Linked DNA regions of Homo sapiens: all the other regions are linked to region 1. The links are contacts of gene promoters, found by promoter capture Hi-C in human tissues and cell types (Jung and others, 2019). All regions are on one chromosome and are shown on one strand. The core of a region is centred on a gene start or on the middle of the fragment in contact, and the rest is flanking DNA. Distances in the headings are between cores, read along the strand shown.

The links. The method cuts DNA at HindIII sites, captures the fragments that hold promoters and counts their contacts. A contact is called where the count stands out against the background at its distance.
Region 2: a fragment that was not itself captured here is called in contact with the fragment with the promoter of ADIG in region 1 in 5 of the 25 tissues and cell types used here (H1 embryonic stem cells, bladder, heart right ventricle and 2 more).
Region 3: a fragment that was not itself captured here is called in contact with the fragment with the promoter of ADIG in region 1 in 2 of the 25 tissues and cell types used here (mesendoderm cells and thymus).

What each region holds. Positions count from the first base shown.
Region 1 is chr20:38,579,943-38,582,969 of GRCh38, reverse strand. It overlaps ADIG (adipogenin), which reads right to left and starts at 1,773. Exons shown (of 3, transcript NM_001393816.1): 1 at 1,596-1,773. The coding sequence starts at 1,719. The HindIII fragment of the contact is 13,860 bases long and covers 1-3,027 here.
Region 2 is chr20:38,497,930-38,500,682 of GRCh38, reverse strand. RALGAPB (Ral GTPase activating protein non-catalytic subunit beta) reads right to left here. Exons shown (of 30, transcript NM_020336.4): 5 at 1,050-1,236. Among named protein-coding and RNA genes, the nearest start is that of MIR548O2, 17 kb to the left of the region's middle. The HindIII fragment of the contact is 5,600 bases long and covers 1-2,753 here.
Region 3 is chr20:38,475,632-38,478,654 of GRCh38, reverse strand. The region is part of intron 1 of RALGAPB (Ral GTPase activating protein non-catalytic subunit beta); the gene reads right to left. Among named protein-coding and RNA genes, the nearest start is that of RALGAPB, 4.3 kb to the right of the region's middle. The HindIII fragment of the contact is 5,940 bases long and covers 1-3,023 here.

The DNA.
Region 1 (3,027 bases), core at 524-3,023:
GGCGGGCACCTGTAATCCCCGCTACTTGGGAGGCTGAGGCAGGAGAATCGCTTGAAGCCAGGAGGCAGAGGTTGCAGTGAGCCGAGATTGTGCCACTGCACTCCAGCCTGGCTGACAAGAGTAAGACTCTGTTTCAAAAAATAAAAATAAAAAAAAAAGGATGATATCTGAACTCATATCTTCCAGACTCCAGAGAGACAACTTTTATCGCCAGTATGCAAACAAGGCTGACTCCCTACCAGCTGTGGGGCCCAATGCCTAAACCGTGCCCCTCAGGGAGGGCTGTGGTCTACCCTAGGACTATGAGGAGAATATACTTTAAATAAACACTTTCTAGAAACAAAAGGACATCCCAAGTTCTTGCCAGGAACTCCCAATAATTACATAATTATAAGCCCCTACATTTGAGATCATGGGGCTAGCAGGGGTGTGGGGAGGGACTTCTCACCCTGCCTCAACAACATCTGACCATTGCTGGCGGCATGTGCTGCGCCCTCCCTGCCTAGCTTGCCAAAGGTCATGGCACTCAGCAGCAGGAGGTAGGAGGTCAAGTGGTCCCCACGAAGAGGCCTTTTTTTGACACAGGGTCTCACTCTGTCTGCTGGAATACAGTGGTGTGATCTCGGCTCACTGCAGCCTCGACCTCCCAGGCTCAAGCAATTCTCCCACCTCAGCCTCCTCAGTAGCTGGGACCACAGATGCATGCCACCACACCTGGCTAATTTTTGTATTCCTTGTAGGGACGTTGCCCAGCCTGGTCTCAAACTCCTGGGCTCAAGCAACCTGGCCACCTTGGCTTCCCAAAGTGCTGGGATTACAGGTGTGAGCCACTGTGTCCAGCAGGAAGAGACCTCTTGCTGAAGGGGATGCTCAGGGAGACACATGCCAGAGGAGCAGAAGTCCCACTCCTGCCACACAGCCAGGCCATATCCTGATCCAGCCACCCCCAGCTTCCTCCACAGCCAGCTTCGTCCCACCTCTTGCTCCTCTTGGTGGCATGCTGAGGTCAGGGTGAATGTCAGCTGGCTTCCATGAGCCTGTCTCCCAAAGCAGCCAGATCCTTTCTGATACATGGCTTAGGCAGAAACAGTGAGTGGTCTGCAGGTATCTGAAAAATGCCTAAGGCTGCTGTATCCCATCGTGCAAGCTGTTTACTGCACAAAAGCAGCCAATTGAGAGGGTGAGCGGGGCTGAAATCCAGCCCACGCTCTGCTCACAGAGCCTTGCACCCCAGCTGAAAGGGGCACCTGGAAGTTCATCTGCCTGGAGCGATAACCTCTGATTTGTTCAAAAGATCACTCTCGAACTCTAGGTTCAAACTCTAGGACTCACTCTCAAACTCTAGGTTCAAACTCTAGGACTCACTCTCGAACTCTAGGTTCAAACTCTAGGACTCACTCTCGAACTCTAGGTTAAGAAACCCTAAACAACCAAACCAATCCTTTCCACTTAAGAGTTGACTGCTTGTATCTAAGCGAGCACTTAAAATGACTGAAGGAAGCCCCTTCTGCAGTTGTTTCAGGACACACTGGCCTATTTGGCCCCCTGCCTAGCTCCAGGATTAGGGTCCTGCCTGGACGGGGTAAGAAGCTCACCTTGGCTAAGTAAGAAGCGTAGCCAGATGATCAATAACAACAGCAAACCCACAGGGAGGCAGAACCAGAAAACCAGGAAAGAAAATGTGAGGTCGTTCACCAGCGGCATCAAAGGGTACTTCATGGCGCATGTGTGGCTAAGCTGGGCCAGCCTGGGCTGGGCTGGCAGGGCTGCCCCATGGGACCTGGCAGGCTGGGCCATGCTCTGCTCTCAGCCCAACTGTGACTAAGCTGTGACATAACAAAGAAGTCACAGTGTACTTCAGGCAAAGCATGCAGGGGACACTTTGAGGGAGAGCTGTTCTGGATGAAAGGGTGGGAAGTGAGGCAGTGAGACAGACAGTCTGGCTGAGAATTAAAAAGCCCAGGTTTCCAGGCAGGCCTGGGCTTGAATCTCAGTCCAGTAGCTATTGGGTTCATGACACCCCTCTGACCCTTTTTCTTGTAAGATGGAGATAATTCTGTTAAGTTAGAAAAATAGATGGGACAAAAATTACCCCCAGGATCGGTGTTCATATATCTGAAGTCACAGACCCCCTCCAGGAGCCAGCTGGGTCCCCAGGTCCTGTAATACCAGCTGTGGGTGCCCACGTCCACACTTGGTGGGGGTGCTGGGGACTGCGGCAAACTGGATGCAGCTTACTGCATCCTAAGCATGCAGTGATGGCAGCTCCAACCAATAACTGCTACAAGTGAAATGCAGGTCCATTATTGCAGGACTCCTAACTTTCCCAAGACAGGCAAAAAGTCTGGATTTCTGTGAAATCTCCCAAGTTTAAAATGTCGGATCAGACCTTGTCAAAGCACTGTTGGCTAAACAAAACGTCTGCCAGGCTGGATTGGTCACTGGGCTGCCACTGAAAACTTTTAAAATCTAACACATAGTAGATTATTCTAATTATTACTAGATTAAATGACTATAAATGATTATTACTTAATCTGAAAGCTTGTGCCTCTCCTTATTAGGGTTTTCAGTGAGGGGCTTCTAACGACTTGAATCTTGTTCCTTTATCTCCTGAGTGGCCAGAACACTTCCACATGTCATCCTCATCTTCTCCTATCTGTCATCCGTTCACTCATCAAGTATTCAGTAAACCTCCATGTGCCAGACCATGGCAGAAAGGAGGCTTCGGGCTTCCCACTGGAGTGGCTGCTGCATGGTATTCTCCAAGAGGACCCTTGGACCACCTGCCTGTGACTGCCAGCAGGTGGGTGGGTGCTGGAGTGTATTTATTAAACATGCCAATTCCCAGGCTCACCTTCGTCTCCTCAGACCTCTTGGGGGTGGGGGTGTGGCTTGGGATTCAACACACTGATAAGCAACTAGAATGATTCTGATGCAGGCTTGATTTTGAGACTACAGCATCTCATGACTTAAAAGCACCTGTTGAAAAGGCAAACCAGGTCCAGGCGGGGGAGCAGCTGCAGGAAG
Region 2 (2,753 bases), core at 32-2,531, 82 kb after region 1:
TTTCAACACACCTTCCTAATTAAACTTAATCATTTCTAGCTTTTGATTTAAAGTGAGAGACATCCAACTATTCCTTTCACTCGACCACTTTGAGGCCATTATAGAGTTACTAATTGGCCTAATTTCAGTATCATTGTGTCTCAAGAGTGGGAAAGAGACGGAAAACAGCTGGTCAGTGGAGCTGTCAGAACACAAACAACATTGATCAGTTAAGTTCACCATTTTATATAGGTGTAGTACGTGGCACTCTAAAACAATTACAATGGTAATATTAAAGATCACTGATCACAGGTCACCATAACAGTAAAAGTTTGAAATACGCAAGAATTACCAACATATGACAGAGGCACAAAGTGAGCATATGCTGTTGGAAAAATGGCACCCGACAGACTCGCTTGATGCAGGGTTGCCACAACCCTTCAATTTGGAAAAAAAAAAAAACATGGTATCCGTGAAGCTCAATACAGTCAAGTGCAATAAAACAAGGTATGCTTGCATATTAAAATCACGATTGAAATGAAAAAATAAGTCTGAAAAAAATGAACCTAAGAGTGTACTTATAAAACAGCGATGGTATTAAATATAAATGGCAAAAAGGTAAAATTATTATTATAAAAAAACTGCCTACTTTGGTTATAAAGTAGCATGTATAATATGGTCCCATTCCTGTAAAATTATATATAAATATACATGGTAGGATTTCAGGAGAACTTTTCTATTATATCTTTCTATGGTTTGTTTCTTTAAAATAATGATTAGGCATATTTTAATGATCATGCATATTTTAATGATCAAAATAAGAGTGGAATTTTTTTGTGGGGGAAGTAGGGTATAAAATTTATCTGTTTCTCAAGAATACTTGATTATTCTGAAATGTTTTAAACAGGCACTAGCCAAACTGTTATATCTATATTTAAAAAGTGGCTCAATTCTGTATCTAAAGTACAGTAATAACAGACCCAGCCTTTGTTATAATGTATTCCATGAATGCCAGAAAGCTGCCTAAGGTCAGACAGGTGAAGGAAGGCAGGGCAATGACAATAACCTACCTGGAAGTGAGTGCACAAATGACCTTGCTCCACTGCTCCACCACTGCTGGGTGATGCCTCCAGTTAGCCACCATCTCCTTGGCTGTTTTCCAATAAGGAGGTGTTGGGAAGCACCGAGTACAAGCTAGTAACCACACCTCAAAGAGAACACCAATCAACTTCTCTGCTAGATTCTCAGCAATGCCACCTTACCAACAAAAAGAAAACACATCTTTGGCAAACTTATTTTTAAAGCAGAATCTTTAAGACACTGATTTGGGAGAACTGGTCAAAAAATTAAAATAAGTGCAATATTAAGTTTTGACTTTCAAATAATCATTTAATAGTAAAAATGAGAAGCAATTCTTAGGAGTTCCTGTACCCAAAATCACAGACACATCAAAAAATTTTTACTTTGAAAGATTTCAAGTTGCCCTGTTCAGTTCTTATTGAAGGCCTTAATCCTCCAGCAAGGGGGACAGAGGGACACAGGGGAGAAGGAAAAGGATGACTGCCTATGATGACTGACTACTATGAGTCAGTTTCTATGCCAAATAGTTCATACAAATGACCTCATATAATCCTCACATTAATTCTGCAGGGTAGGTATCTGTAATACCTAATACCAACTGCTAATTATACCCATTTTGAAGATGAGAAAACTTAGATTCAGAAAGTTTAAGTAACTTCTCCGACTTCATGCAGCCAGTAAGTGAAGGAATCACAACAAACACCCATGTCTTTTTACCTCCAAACTTTGCCATACAATGCTCCAAGTATTTGAAAGCCACCCTTCAAGGGAGAGAGACAGAGAGACAAATAATGGAGCAAAAGGACTGGTGTTGGGAAGGACAGAGCCTTAACCATGAAAATGGGGCTGTTCCCCTGTTCTAAGCCCTGGAACCAGGTGGAAAAACAGCAGTGGTCTTTACACCGCATAGCTCCAGAAGGCAAAGTTGGGACTCACAGGAAAAGTTGTAAGAATGTGTGTTTCAAATGAGCAAAACCAAAGTTTCAACAACAAAGAGCCCAGGAGGGGGATGAATTGTCTGCCTCATGCTGTTGAGACCCCTGGCATGGGGAGTAAGTAGCAGAGAGGTGATGAATCAATGACTGTCCAGCTATTGTCAATACCAGACAGAGTATTACTATCATTGCATCCCTTCCCACACTGAAATTCCATGCTTCCTTTTAGATATTTCCCTGAATACTGCATCTGTGTGAGAACACAAGCACACTCACATGTGTTAGTCAACAGAGTACACCAATGAATAAGCAACAAGAGAACTTGGAACTAGATGATCAACTTATAGTTTATATACACTGTGCTATATACAAAGCAGGGATTCTGAAATACACTGTAAAGTCTTATAAAACTGGAGGCATTTAATGGCTAGCTAATGAATAGCAAACTGGCACACTTCCAAATAGAACAGTTAAAAGACTTTGGAGGTTTCATTTGCTGAGTAAAATATCTTGTCACTACCAAGTTTTCAGACTCTACTTTGATAACTACTTTGTAATATATTATCTATAGGCTCTAATTTAATTGGTTAATTGTTTCTTTTCTTTTTTTTTTTTTTTTGAGACAGAGTCTTGCTCTTGTCGCCCAGGCTGGAGAGCAGTGGCACGATCTTGGCTCACTACAACCTCCACCTCCCAGGTTCAAGCAATTCTCCTGCCTCAGCCTCCTGAGTAGCTGGAATTATAGGTGTGTGCCACCAC
Region 3 (3,023 bases), core at 434-2,933, 100 kb after region 1:
ACAAGAGCGAAACTCTGTCTCAAAAATAAAAAATAAAATAAAATAAATAATAATAAAAATAAAAAAATTAGCCGGGTGTGGTGGCGGCTGCCTGTAATCCCAGCTACTCAGGAGGCAGAGGCAGGAGAATAGCTTGAACCTGGGAGGCGAAGGTTGCAGTGAGCTGAGATCACGCCACTGCACTCTAGCCTGGGTGACAGAGCGAGACTCCGTCTCAAAAAAAAAGAAAAACTACTTGAGGTCTTGCTTGAGCACATTGTACCTTTGCATAATTTATCATTTTCAAAGAGCTTTTACATGTTACTTCATTTTATTCCAATAACAACCCTAGAAGGTTAGGTAAGACAGACGTCACTAACCACTAGGTAAGGAAACAAAGTAAAGCTATGACTTGCTCAGGATCACATCAAGTAACAGCGGATCTGGGACAAGAAACTCCACCTCTTGCCTCAAAGTGCAATGCTACTTCCCTTTGTCCTGACTCCATACCTCACCATATGACTTTGGATAAGTCAACTGGCATTTCTCTTTTTGAGACAAGGTCTCACTCTGTCGCCCAGGCTACAGTGCAGTGGCACGATCTCGGCTCACAGCAGCCTCTGCCTCCCAGGCTTAAGTAATCCTCCCACTCAGCCTCCCAAGTAACAGACCACAGGTGTGTGTCACCATGCGCCGCTAATTTTTAGAAAAATTTTTATAGAGACAAAGTCTCATTATGCTGCCCAGGCTGGCCTCAAACTCCTGGGCTCAAGCAATCCTCCCACCTCGGCCTCCCAAAGTGTTAGGTTTACAAGTCAGCCACCGCACTCGGTGACCTGGCATTTCTTTGTCATAGTTTCCTCATCTGTAAAACAGGGAGAATACCTGCAGTGCCTATCTAGAGTGACCTGGGAGAAGGATCAAATAAAGCAACCTAAGTTGACATACTTTGAAATGTACCAATGGAAGGTACACATTATAAGACATGCCTATTTCTCTTGGGAAAAATAGGATACAGGGTGCTAAAACACTGAGCAAATAAATAAACTGTGCTTTTTTTAAGGTGCACCAAATTCATCCATATAACCTCATGATTCATATTGCTGTTGCAGTCCCATTGACCCCATAAGGCAAACATCAATAAAGCTGGCAAAAAAGGAAGGTATTCACCTATGTACCAGATGCTATTAGAGATCCTATCAAACACCTGAATTACAGGAAACAAAGACAGGTTCTGCCTGCATCTCTCCCAAAACATGGAAAATGGTAGTTTTTGGTAAGCTACCCAAAGAACGTTTGAATACCCTGTCTGCCCCCTACCAGCACCACCACAGTTCTCATCTTTTATGCCTGAGACCTTCTCTGAGGCATAAAACAGACCTCTGTCCAATACAGCAGCTATTTCATGTAACTATTTAAATTTTAAAAACTTTTAATTTTAATAGTTTTAAGTTTAAACTATTTGAGTCAAACATCACTTCCTTGGTTACACTAGTCATTTTAAATGCTTACAAGTCACATGTGGCCAGTGGCTACCATATTAGAGCAAGTAAGATTTAGTTCCATGATTGCAGAAAATTCTATTTGACAGAGCTGCTTCAGATACTACACTATTATTTTATTATAACTTTGATTAGACTCCTTGAGGACAGGGGCCGTGTCTTATTTATCTTTGTATTCCCAGTTTATATAGCTAAGTGCATTTCACACACCAAGTACTCACTATCCTCAACTTATTATTTTCAACTGTACCAGGGTGTGAAAGTGATATGCGTTCAGTAAAAACCGTACTCTGATTATCCACATAACCATTGTTTTTCACTTTCAGTACAATATTCAATCAATTACATGAAATATTCAACACTTTATTATAAAATAGGCTTTGTGCTAGACAATTTTGCTCAACTGTACGCTAATGTAAATGTTCTGAGCATGTTTAAGGTAGATGAGGCTAAGCTATTCTGTTCAGTAGGTATATTAAATGCATTTTTGGCTTACGATCTTCTCAACTTTGATAGGTTTATTGGGAAGTAATCCCATCATAAGTCGAGGGGCCTCTAGATATCTAATTGAGTTTCTCAAACATAGCAGATCACTCTCTCCCCTTCCCTATCCCATGCACACACAGACAGGCAAACACAACACAACAATACACAAGACAACCTTTCTCATGGGGAAGGGGTCGGGGGCGAAAGGGGACACCGTCCAGAGGAAGGAGGCCTGCTTTCTAGTCCTGGAGGTGCTAGAAGCTAACCATGTAGCCTTGACCAAGTTACTTTCCGCATCTATAAAAAGTTAGAATGAAACTCCATGCACCTTAATTTTAAAACTTAAATCATCTCGCACCAAAGAAAATCAACTATTCTGCCCAAAAAGTCTTTGCACATGTCAGGAAACACACCTGCTAACACTGATGAGTACCTCGTATTAAACAGAATCCATTTCTAGGTCCCAAGCTATCATGATTAGAGTCACTTTTGTTCTCTGAGCATGTGGAATTTTTCACCTTTACTTTGGGGCACAACTACAGACTTAAACCTTCAGCCTTAAAGATTGAGTTTCTTCCATGTGCTAAAGCAAGAACTGGATACTGTGTCCCTATCTGATCAGACACACAAGGACAAGTTTCTTGAGTATCTGAATTTAACATAAGTTGTCCCATCAGTTTCTATTAGTGCTAAGCCTAAAAACTGACCAAATAATACAAAACGGAACCAAGAAAATTTTTCTATAACAATCCTTATAAAGAATATTTTATGGGCTGGGGACGGTGGCTAATGCCTGTAATCCCAGCACTTTGGGAGGACTAGGCAGGCAGATCACTTAAGGTCAGCAGTTCGACATGAACCTGGCCAACATGGCGAAACCCCCTCTCAACTAAAAATACAAAAAAATTAGCCAGGTGTGGTGGTGGGTGCCTGTAGTCCCAGCTACTCAGGAGGCTGAGGCAGGAGAATCGTTTGAACCCAGGAGGCGGAGGTTGTAGTGAGCTGAGATTGCGCCACTACACTCCAGCCTGGGGGACAGAGCGAGACTGCATCTCA